Linked DNA regions of Homo sapiens: all the other regions are linked to region 3. The links are contacts of gene promoters, found by promoter capture Hi-C in human tissues and cell types (Jung and others, 2019). All regions are on one chromosome and are shown on one strand. Each heading gives the region's core, a stretch centred on a gene start or on the middle of the fragment in contact. The rest is flanking DNA. Distances are from core to core; before and after follow the strand shown. Region 1 overlaps MYH3 (myosin heavy chain 3). Region 2 overlaps MYHAS (myosin heavy chain gene cluster antisense RNA). Region 3 holds the start of PIRT (phosphoinositide interacting regulator of transient receptor potential channels).

Region 1 (3,338 bases), core at 560-3,059, 210 kb after region 3:
TTCAAAGGAGGCCAGCTTAAGAAAGGGAAGAAACTGTTTCCCAGCCTGTCGCTAAAGTTCTCATTGCCTCATTGATTAGGTTATTTTATCTACTGGGTGTAGCTCTGGCCCTCTTCCAGGGTGGCAGAGTGTGCTTCATCACAGTCTCACCCGTTGTCCTTTTTCTTTCTTTCTTTCTTCCCCCACCCCCGAGATGGAGTTTCACTCTTATTGACCAGGCTGGAGTGCAATGGCGAGATCTCGGCTCACTGCAACCTCCTCCTCCTGGGTTCAAGCAACTCTCCTGCCTCAGCCTCCGGAGTAGCTGGGAATACGGGCATCTGCCACCACGCCCAGCTAATTTTTTGTATTTTTAGTAGAGATGGGCTTTCACCATGTTGAGCAGGCTGGTCTTGAACTCCTGACCTCAGGTGATCCACCCGCCTTGGCCTCCCAAAGTGCTGGGATTACAGACGTGAGCCACCGCGCCTGGCCTGTCCTTTTTCTTTAGCATGGTCTCTGGTCCTCCGAGGTCCCCAGGTTTTGACAGTTCCAAGGCACTGGAGCTTCCTCTGCATCCTAGCAAGTCCCATGTGCTTTTCAGGCTGCCATGATGGCGGAGGAGCTGAAGAAGGAGCAGGACACCAGCGCCCACCTTGAGCGGATGAAGAAGAACCTGGAACAGACGGTGAAGGACCTGCAGCATCGTCTAGATGAGGCCGAGCAGCTGGCGCTGAAGGGCGGGAAGAAGCAGATCCAGAAACTGGAGACCAGGGTGTGTGCAGGAGGAACCCCGCCTGCGCTGAGCTTTCCAGCCTCCCAATCACGCTGCAGCCCCAGACTAATTTCCCCACCCTCTCCCCCAGATCCGAGAGCTGGAGTTTGAACTTGAGGGAGAGCAGAAGAAGAACACAGAGTCTGTTAAGGGCCTGAGGAAGTATGAGCGGAGGGTCAAGGAGCTGACGTACCAGGTAAGTGGAACGCAAACGCCATGATCGTGTCCTCTGTGACGTGCAGATTCTCCATCAAACCACAGGAAGAAACACTTTGGCCCAGAAAGCTGCCCATGCCGTGTGCAAATCTGCCCCCTCCTCTCCAGTGACATTCCCACTTTCTCATTCTTAGAGTGAAGAGGACAGGAAGAATGTGCTGAGATTGCAGGATCTGGTGGATAAACTGCAAGTGAAAGTCAAGTCCTACAAGAGGCAGGCGGAGGAGGCTGTAAGTGAGATAGGTGCTGACTGCGGCAGGCAGACCGTGCTGTTTCCCGTGGTGAGTTCTGAGAGAGGCGCGTGCTGATATAACCTGCCTGGGCTCTTTGGTTTTAGGATGAACAAGCCAATGCTCATCTCACCAAATTCCGAAAGGCTCAGCATGAGCTGGAGGAGGCCGAGGAACGTGCGGATATCGCAGAATCTCAAGTCAACAAGCTCCGCGCTAAGACTCGAGACTTCACCTCCAGCAGGGTGAGTCGCTGAGCTGGGAGGAGCCCCCCCCCAGGGACTGTAGAAACTTCTTAGCTGGAAGGAACCTCAGAGAACCCTTTACTTTAGAGCTGGGGAGTCTCAGGCTCAGGAAGAGAAAGTGCTTAAAGTCACTTAGCTGACTGGACCCTCGCTAGAATCCTGGTCTGTGAGTCACAATAAAAACCGCCATCCTGCACATGTACACCATGGAATACTATGCAGCCATAAAAAAGAATGATATCATGTCCTTTGCAGGGACATGGATGAAGCTGGAAGCCATCATTCTCAGCAAACTAACACAGAAACAGAAAACCAAACACCACATGTTCTCACTCATTAGTGGGAGTTGAACAGTGAGAACACGTGGACACAGGGAGGGGAACATCACACACCGGGGCCTTTCCGGGGGTGGGGGCGGCAAGGGGAGGGAGAGCATTAGGACAAACAGCTAATGCACGTGGGGCCTAAAACCTAGATGACAGGTTGATAGGTGCAGCAAACCACCATGGCACATGTATACCTATGTAACAAACCTGCACGTTCTGCACATGTATCCCAACAAAACAAAACAAACCGCCATCCTGAAAAGGAGCGAGCGGGTCCCACTGAGCTCTTTCATGCGCCCCCTGCTGGTAACAAAAGGCTGCTGCAGGAGCCCCCTCCAGAGCCCGCTGAACACACAGCATCCGACAGTAGGTCGCTGGGTCTCCAGCGTTTGGGGCTTGCTCTTTCGGAGGGCCAGTTTCTCAGGCTATGGGGTGACTTCATGTGTGCAATCGTGCGTTTTCCCAAGGTCCAAAAAATATCCTGTGTCCCACTGAAGTAGGCAAGCAACTCTGATGCCAGCCGGCAGAAGTGGTGGGTGGGAATGTGTCTCTGCCACCCGACTTGACTCCAGGTGCCTACTTTCTTCCTAGATGGTGGTCCACGAGAGTGAAGAGTGAGCCAGCCCTTCTGGAGCAGGACAGAAGATATGCAAAATGTATATTTTCTTGATTCCTGACCATTGATACTTAATGTCCATGTGACTCTTTTTCACATGCAATAAACTTTGCTTTGTTTCAATCTGGGGCCGCTTTGCTGTATTTGTTTTCCTCTTCCCCATGCAGAAATGGTTCCTAGTTTGATGGTTTGTATGCTCGGAGGTGAAAGCTTTGTAAGCAGATGGCTCGGTAAATTCAATTGGTGTGTGCATGTGCGGAGGGAGAGATGGCTTTTGGCTTAAATCAAAAAGGAAAAAAAAAAACTTCCGGGTTAACCTTTGCTTTGGTGGGGAATGGGAGGGAGAGCTTTTCAAAAGAGTCATCTCTTAATATGACATGAAGGAAACACAAAGGTAGGCTCATGAAAAGCCCTTGTCTTGAGTTGAATAAGGTTATAAAGCAAAGGCCCACATTCTCCTTCTTTACATTCTAGTGGGGAAATACATCTGAAATCTAGTAAATATTTGTTGGGCAGCTGTTCATGTAAGCACTGTGCTATCAAAAATACATAAATGAATAAAAAAGAGGCTGGCCCCTTCAAGCGCTCAGTCTAAATCTACTACTGTTATCTTAGATCAGTGTGCACTATTTCAAAGCTGCACAACAGAAAATCCCACCCCTGACCCAAGATAACCTTGTCTTTACCTTAAGAGGGAAGGAAGGCAGGAAGTCAAATAACTATCTGGTTGACTTGCTACTAGAAAGAGCATCTTCTAGCCTGGGATCCTTTGTTTATTGTCATCAGTAAATTTATTAGCAATAGCTGCCAAGTTCCCTTCTTTGTCTGATTCCAGAAGATTAGGGGACCTAGTTTGACTCAGGTGAGAATGAAAGGCCAAGGGGTGTTCTCTCCAGATGTGGGGGAACTCAACAAATCATTTAGCTTTTTCAATAAATAAATTGCAAAGAA
Region 2 (3,719 bases), core at 1,118-3,617, 230 kb after region 3:
CAAGCGACCTTCTGATATTGTTTACCACAAAGAGAATGTTCTGGAACAGAGTTTGGTTTCACTTCCTGGACCCAGAAGAGTTCCCTTAATAAACTAATAATCAACTGGAATTCTGGTAGAAAATTCAGTGCCTTGCGAGTTTGGTTAGTATGGACCAATTTCTGACCACTTGATTAATTCCAGATGCCCTAGTAAATCACATTCCTGAGCTCCAACCTATCATTCTTTCATCTAACATTTATTGAGCACCTACTGTCTACCAAGCACTATGGTAGGAACTGGTGAAAGCCAGATAAAGGACACAGCCTCTGCCCTCAGGGAGCTTTCAGACCAGTGTTGACCCAATCCTGGAGTGTGAGAAACATCACGCTTGTTATGGCTGAGCCTGAAAGGGACAATGAGCCTCCTCCACTGCTACTGAATCAGAACTTACTTTGCATTTACAGTCTATCCATGGGATCAGAAAATCAGTCAACCTTAGATTTGAAAGGAACCTCAGACATCACCTTACTTAGTGACTCTCAATGCTACCTACACATGACAATCACTGGGAGAGCTTTTAAAAAATACTGATGCTGGCCGGGCGCGGTGGCTCACGCCTGTAATCCCAGCGCTTTGGGAGGCTGAGGAGGGTGGATCACCTGAGGTCGGGAGTTCAAGACCAGCCTGACGAACATGGAGAAACCCCGTCTCTGCTAAAAATACAAAATTAGCTGGGCATAGTGGCGCAAGCTTGTAATCCCAGCTACTCGAGAGGCTGAGACAGGAGAATCGCTTGAACCCGGGAGGTGGAGGTTGCGGTGAGCCAAGACCATACCATTGCACTTCAGCCTGGGCAACAAGAGCAAAACTCTGTCTCAAAAAAAAAAAAAAAAATACTGATGCCTGGCCTAACCCTGTCCCTACCCTAAGTTGTTGATGAAATTGATTTGAAGAGGGCCCCCAGATGCCAGCATTTTTCATTATTTGTCCGGGTGATTCAAAGGTGAAGGCAGGGCTGAGAATCCCTGATCTAGTCCAATGCCTGCATTTTCCAGGGGCTAAACTGAGACCCAAGGAACTGAAAGAATGTGCCCAGAAAACATTCACTCACATAAATTCAGGGACTTATCTAGGACCCTAAGTCAGAGTGTGCTTTGCTTCAATCAGTGTCTCCCAGATCTAGTCATTTGAATACAGTCTTCCCAATACTGTCACAGCCACATGCATCTCTATGTACTTTTTAACTTATTTATTTATTTACTTGTTTTGAGACAGAGTCTCACTCTGTCACCTAGGCTAGAGTACAGTGGCGTGATCTCGGCTCACTGCAACCTCCGCCTCTGGGGTTCAAGTGATTCTCCTGCCTCAGCCTCCTGAGTAGCTGGTATTACAGGCGTGCGCCACCACGCCCAGCTAATTTTTGTATTTTTAGTGAAGATGGGGTTTCACCATGTTGGCCAGGCTGTTCTTGAATTCCTGACCTCAAGTGATCTACCCACCTTGGCCTCCCAAAGTGCTGGGATTACAAGTGTGAGCCACCACACCCGGCTTCTATGTACTTTTTTTAAAAAATGATTTTTAAAATGTAATGCTGTTTAGCCTTGTCTTCAGCAATAAAATCTGTAAAATACACCTTAAAATTAAGAACAATTAAGATGCGATGGACTTCGCAGTCGACCACCTTAGCTCCTGCTGTACATCACGCCTTGTGCATGTATCACACTTTAAAACACAGAAGACTGAGGTACTGGGAGTGCTGGGAAGACTTGGGGAAATTTAGGGCAGGTGTTGTAGACCTTTGTCCTGAGTTACTCACATGTAGGGCTGAAGAAGCTGCAGGTGACCACATGTACCAGGCAGCAGCTGAACCTCATGGAGTCTGTCAGTCCTCGGCAGCACTCAAATCCTCAAACGGGGATTAATGATGGAATTGGAGCGAGGAAGGAGGGGGTGACAACCGGAGGATTCATTTTACCTCTTCTGGAAAGGCTACAGGTCACCCTGTACCAACAGACTATTAAAATGAAGCTGCCTATCCATCACCTGGAATCTGCTGGTCCAAACACGCTGAAATTGATCTAGCAGGAGGGGAAAAATACCATTACAGAAGGCTCATAAAGTCACAGCACAGTAATGCAGCTTACACTAGAGGCCATCTTTCAGCCTGGGTTTAAAGATTCAGAATTTTAAATTTATTATTCTACTTACCAGGACTTATTTTCTTTTCTGAATAAGCTCATTAATCTTGATAGGTTGTTTAATATATTCTAAAGTGATACTCAATATTCTGAGAGAAAGGAGAGAAAAAAACAACGTATTCACCTGTCTCAGTTGAGCTTCAAGATAAGTTAGTTCTTTGAGTTTGAACAAATTCTCCATAATCAGGGCTTTAATTAAGAGGTTTCCCAGTTTTTAAATTTGGGAGAAAAGCGATGAAAGGAATTGGAGAATTTGTACTCTGGTAAAATGAGATGACCTGGAATCCTTATCTAAACCAACAAATCTAAAGAAAACCTAAGACCTTGTTCAATTCTCTTTTTCTCTCTCACTTTTATATTTAAAAAGACTGTTCAACCAACTAATTTCCTAGCAATTCCATTCCTAGGAAAGTCCCTTGGATGGATTCTGATTCCAGTGCACAAGAAGACATAAAGAAGGATGTTCAATGCTTAATTTTTTATAATAGAGAAAAATTAGAAGTACGTTGAATGTCCATCAACTGGATAAACAGGATAGATAAATTGTGGTAGAGTCATATATGAAATGCCATACAGCCATGAAAATGAATGAATAAGAGTTATATATGTCTCAAAAATTGATGAAAAGCAGCAAAAAATATATATATAAATATATATATTATATATATAAATATAAATTTTTTATATATAAATATATATATTATATATAAATATAAATGTTTATATATAAATATATAAAATATATTTTTATATATAAAAATATATTTAAAAATATAAAAATATATATAAAAATATAAAAAAATAAATATATATTTATATATATTTTTAATATATATAAAAATATATATATGTATATATGTATAGTGCCATACTATTTAGGTATAGTTTTAAAATATAAAACAATAGTGCCTAGTGCTTATGGACATAAACACATATAATAAAAGTGTAAAGCACTGGGCAGGAAGATACACACCAACTTTAGGGAGACAGTTGCTCCTGGATGAAGGCAGGAGATAAGTACAGTATTTTATTATTGCAATTATTTTAAAGATCTGAAGCAAATATGAAAAATGACATTTGTTAAATCTAGATGGTGGGTCATGGAGACTTATTAAATTATGTTTTCAAACTTTTCTGTCAGTTTGAAACTTCATAGTTGAAAAATAAAGTTATTTAAGCCATTGAAGCCACTGAGTCAAAAATATATACATGAATTCCTTGGGTAGAAATATCTGATTATGACAGAAAAGCCTGCCTTCTCCTATTGAGAGACAAATGCAAAACTCAATGTTTCTTAGGGATGCAGACACAAAGAAAATTGGCAGAAGGAATTTGCTAAGTTGTTAATAAAATAAAGCCCAAGGGCCAAACACGATGGCTCATGCCTGTAATCCCAGCACTTTGGGATGCCAAGCTGGGAGGATCGCTTGAGCCCAGGAGTTCGAGGCTGCAGTGAGCTATGATCGCACCATTGCACTCCAGCCTGGGTGACAGAATGAGACCTTGTCTTTTTTTTTTTCTTTTTTTTTTTAAGTTCAA
Region 3 (3,702 bases), core at 1,005-3,504:
AAGTGTTTACTAAGGAAACCAATTCATCTGGTTTGCTTGGAACTTTCATGGTTTTAGCACTGAAAGTCCCACATTTCAGGAAATCCATCAGTACCCAGTGAGCCTGGATGGCTGGTCATCCTACCTTACCACTGTCTCGTGCAACACTGGACTGGCCAGGTGAGGGGGCACAGCGCTGAGCAGGAGCAGCTACAGGGTGGAGAGTTAGGGCACTGTGGATAAGAGGCTAAGAGCCATCCCCAGGCAGTGACCATCCCTGCTCCCATTCCCTTCAACACCACAGCTGCAGTAGCGGCCTCTTCATCCCGGGACACTGGAGTCAGCTGCCCAGGGACCATGATGGCTCCTCATGCCTCCTCATCTGTCCTGCTAGGAAGGGGGTCTGCAGACAGAACAGCTTCTACCCCGGACATGTTCTCCTCTGATGCTTGCTGCCCCTCCAATTTACATTTATATTTAAATATGTACTTATACACATGTGCATTATGTGCATATATATTATGTATATATTCTTTAAGCACTTGCTATGAGCATTTTCTCATTTAATCTTCATAAAAGCTCTGTGATGTAGTAATGATCCCACTCAATGAATACATGAGGAAATTAAGGCCCAGAGAAGTAATTCGTCCAAGGCCAAATACAGAGATAGCAATATACCTCACATGGCTACCTCATGGAGTTGTATGGGAAATAAGTGAATTGCTATATATATAAAGTGCTTAGAAGAGTGCCTGACATGGAGGGAGTGATGAATAAGGGTTTAACTTAGGATGGTATTACTCTGCCACACTGCCGTGCCCTGCAGAGGGTGGGGGAATAGCCCGAACTTTGTAAAAATAAATAAATAAATCATTTGATTATTTGCATTGCAAAATAATTCACTCTAGGGTTCCTCTGCGAGCCAGGCCACTTGGTTTTACAAACTGATTTGAGTATAAAGTCAGAGGCACCTAAGGCAAAGCAACTCACATCCTCAAAAACCTTCAAAGTCAAGTTCCCCTGGACACTCAAGGCAGGCCTCTCCCTGCTCATTGCCCTGAGCAGAGACGCTCATCTTCACAGAGGACAGAGGGCGTACTCAGCCTGATCCCTCACAGCAGCTCAGGGGACAGGCTCATCCTCCTAGCTCTCTGCTTCTCTAGGCATGGATCACACAGCAACCTCTACAGAGCCTTCTAGGCTCAGAATCTCCTGCTCATTGCACAGATGAGGAACTCAAGATGCCAAATATGGGAGAGTCTCATACCTGCCTTGACAGCAGCTTCCTTGGATGGCTCCTAGGAAAGCCCTCCCGGCAGACCACAGAGGAAGCCCCTCAGGGTACTGTTCCCAGTAGCAAGGATGCCCACCCACCAGTTATCCTGAGGAACAACAGCTGCCCACGTTCTCAGGTTAGTGTGGGCCAGGGCAGGAGCCAGCATGCCTTCCAGAATCATAGGCAATTTTGCTGACCTCAGTGTATCCGTCAGCATCTTGAGAACTGGCCACTCAACAGCTCACACCCAGCTTCCCGAAGCACAGTCTGGTAAAGGTTTATAGAGGAGAAAACCTTTTCATCCTCCTTGCACTGATTTGCATCATTCTCTTCTCATCATTGTGGCAGCAGGCATCCCATAAAAAGCAACAGGGCACCATGAGGAATGATTGGAAGAGCGATGGGGAACAAGCTCTTTTGCCTCTATTTGAGATGTCAGGCCTGGGATGGAGGTAAGTCGTGTTGTGGGCTCCTGGCAGTTTGTAACATAGGGTGCCCACCCGTGCATTGGAAAGTTCCAAGAAGTGTCCCTGCCATCTTGCAACCAAGGATGTTTTCTAAGTCTGCATGTGCCCCCTCCAACATCCAGAACACAGAGAGTTCCCAGATCAAATTATTAAGGCCTGCACTGAACAGAGCCAGTGTAGCCTGAGTCAGCCGGAGGGTCTGATCCACTCTTTGGCAACTCATCCCCACCACCATGGCCACTACACACCTCCACCAACCCAGAAACTCCAGGTCCTCTGATTTCTGAGCCTGGGTCAGGAGAAGCTGCCCTGCCCAGGCACCAACGGAACGCACGCCTCCATGAAACTTGAAGACAGACTGCAGAGAAGCATCATGAATTTTTCACAAGATTCATCTAATTGTGGCTGAGCAGAGCTGAGAAAGCCACAGTCCGAGGACCCATGCCAGCAGCTCACAAAGAGTTAACCCATTAGGCCATTGCCTGGTGAGCTCATCCATCCCTGCTGGAGCCTGCTCAGTTGCTGGGATTCACAACACACTGACTTCTGGACGTGGTCAGGGTGGCTTTCTCTGGCTGGCATGGACTTGAGCAGAAACTCATTGCCGGCTTCCTCCTTGCACGAGCACCAAGTGATTCCCAGGTCCCCCATCCTCCCCTGGGACATCGAGGACAGTAAGTAAGGAGGGAATGTTTCCTTCTGCCCTTCCTTCCATCTCGCTGAAGGAAGGAGCAGATTTTAACTTTGCTTTGGAGCGTGTTGTCTTTAAACTGGGGTTGGAAGGCAAGCATGAACAACAAGCGGAGAAAAGGGGGCTATGCCCTGGGAGGGGGTGAAGTCAGCCTGGAGGCACTGCCTGCTGAGGGTCTTGGCAGACAGTGGTGGCCAGAGGAAGGGGGGCCGCCCCTTGCTGTGTACTGGGAAGAAGGGAATTTGTGGGCAGAGAGCTGCTTCAGTCCTGCGTCTATAGCATCCAGCCTTCACTCTTAGCAGCCATTGTGGGAAGGGCTGGGCAGGGACTCTCCTCCCAAATCTAAGTGGAAGAAGCAAAAAAGCCAGACAGGAAAGTGCAAGGCCACCCCCAGACCCCAGAGTACATGGGTGGAATCTCGGACCCCAGCCGTCCTCCTGAGCACCCTGTGTCAGACCTCTGCAGCTGCCAATGTCTTCCTCCTGCAGCTGTGGCAGGTGTCTGGGGCAGGTGCCAGAAAAACAAGGTGGAGTGCGTTGGCTGCCTCGGGAGTTTTATCTCAGACAGGGGGAACAAGGCAGGCACATGCAAACACGGACAAAGACGTGGCTCAGTCAGGCAACTGTGTGCCGTGAGAACCCTGCATCCGGGTAAAGCCAGCCGTGGTCACACACGCAATCGCCCGAGCTATTTTTCTACCCTGTCACTGGCCAGGGTCTGGGCACCAGCCGGGTGGCCCAACAAGGGAGGTGGGTGGCACCCTCTAGGTTGACTGTGACCTTTGGGAAACTTCCCTTCCTAGAAGCGCTATGAGCAGGTGACAGATGGGTGGCCATGGCCATGGTGACAGCAGCGGCTTACTCAGAAACCCTCTAGCTTCTATTAGCCCAGACACTTGGCCCCCACTCACCTTATCAGAGGGGTGGACAGTCACCAACTGAATGTCCTGGTGAGGGGAAGACAGCACCGCCAGAGAAGATAAGGGACCGTGGGGATGACCACTGGCAAGCTGGAGCTGGGTGGGGCCTTAATGGGGACTCCGTGAGGGAAACAGGAGGACCCTCCACTTCTTACCACTCTGGGTCTTCCACAGGAATAATACATGGTGTTATTCCCACCACTTCCATCCTGCCTTCCCCGCTTCTCCCCCAGACTCCCCTCGCTGGGCCCAGCCTCCCAGCAGTGAGGTAATGTGTGCCTCTCTCCTCTGCTTTCAGCTCTTGCAACTTCCAGAACAGCCCAGGTGCTATCAGAGCTCTCTAGATGGTGGGGCCTGAGGGGCAGAAGCT

Evidence for each region. Contacts are between HindIII fragments. The study calls those that stand out against the background at their distance.
Region 1: a fragment that was not itself captured here is called in contact with the fragment with the promoter of PIRT in region 3 in 1 of the 25 tissues and cell types used here (lymphoblastoid cells).
Region 2: a fragment that was not itself captured here is called in contact with the fragment with the promoter of PIRT in region 3 in 1 of the 25 tissues and cell types used here (spleen).

The regions. Positions count from the first base shown.
Region 1 is chr17:10,627,704-10,631,041 of GRCh38, reverse strand. It overlaps MYH3 (myosin heavy chain 3), which reads left to right. Exons shown (of 41, transcript NM_002470.4): 37 at 584-754; 38 at 846-950; 39 at 1,105-1,200; 40 at 1,308-1,445; 41 at 2,363-2,510. The coding sequence ends at 2,389. It overlaps LOC124903927 (a long non-coding RNA gene), which reads right to left and starts at 410. Exons shown (of 3, transcript XR_007065620.1): 1 at 374-410. The HindIII fragment of the contact is 9,087 bases long and covers 1-3,338 here.
Region 2 is chr17:10,606,695-10,610,413 of GRCh38, reverse strand. MYHAS (myosin heavy chain gene cluster antisense RNA) reads right to left here. Exons shown (of 11, transcript NR_125367.1): 7 at 2,191-2,269; 8 at 1,799-2,060. Among named protein-coding and RNA genes, the nearest start is that of MYH3, 49 kb to the left of the region's middle. The HindIII fragment of the contact is 5,127 bases long and covers 1-3,719 here.
Region 3 is chr17:10,836,639-10,840,340 of GRCh38, reverse strand. PIRT (phosphoinositide interacting regulator of transient receptor potential channels) reads left to right here and starts at 2,254. Exons shown (of 2, transcript NM_001101387.2): 1 at 2,254-2,396. RefSeq lists a silencer at 1,021-1,245 and an enhancer at 2,942-3,443. The HindIII fragment of the contact is 18,169 bases long and covers 1-3,702 here.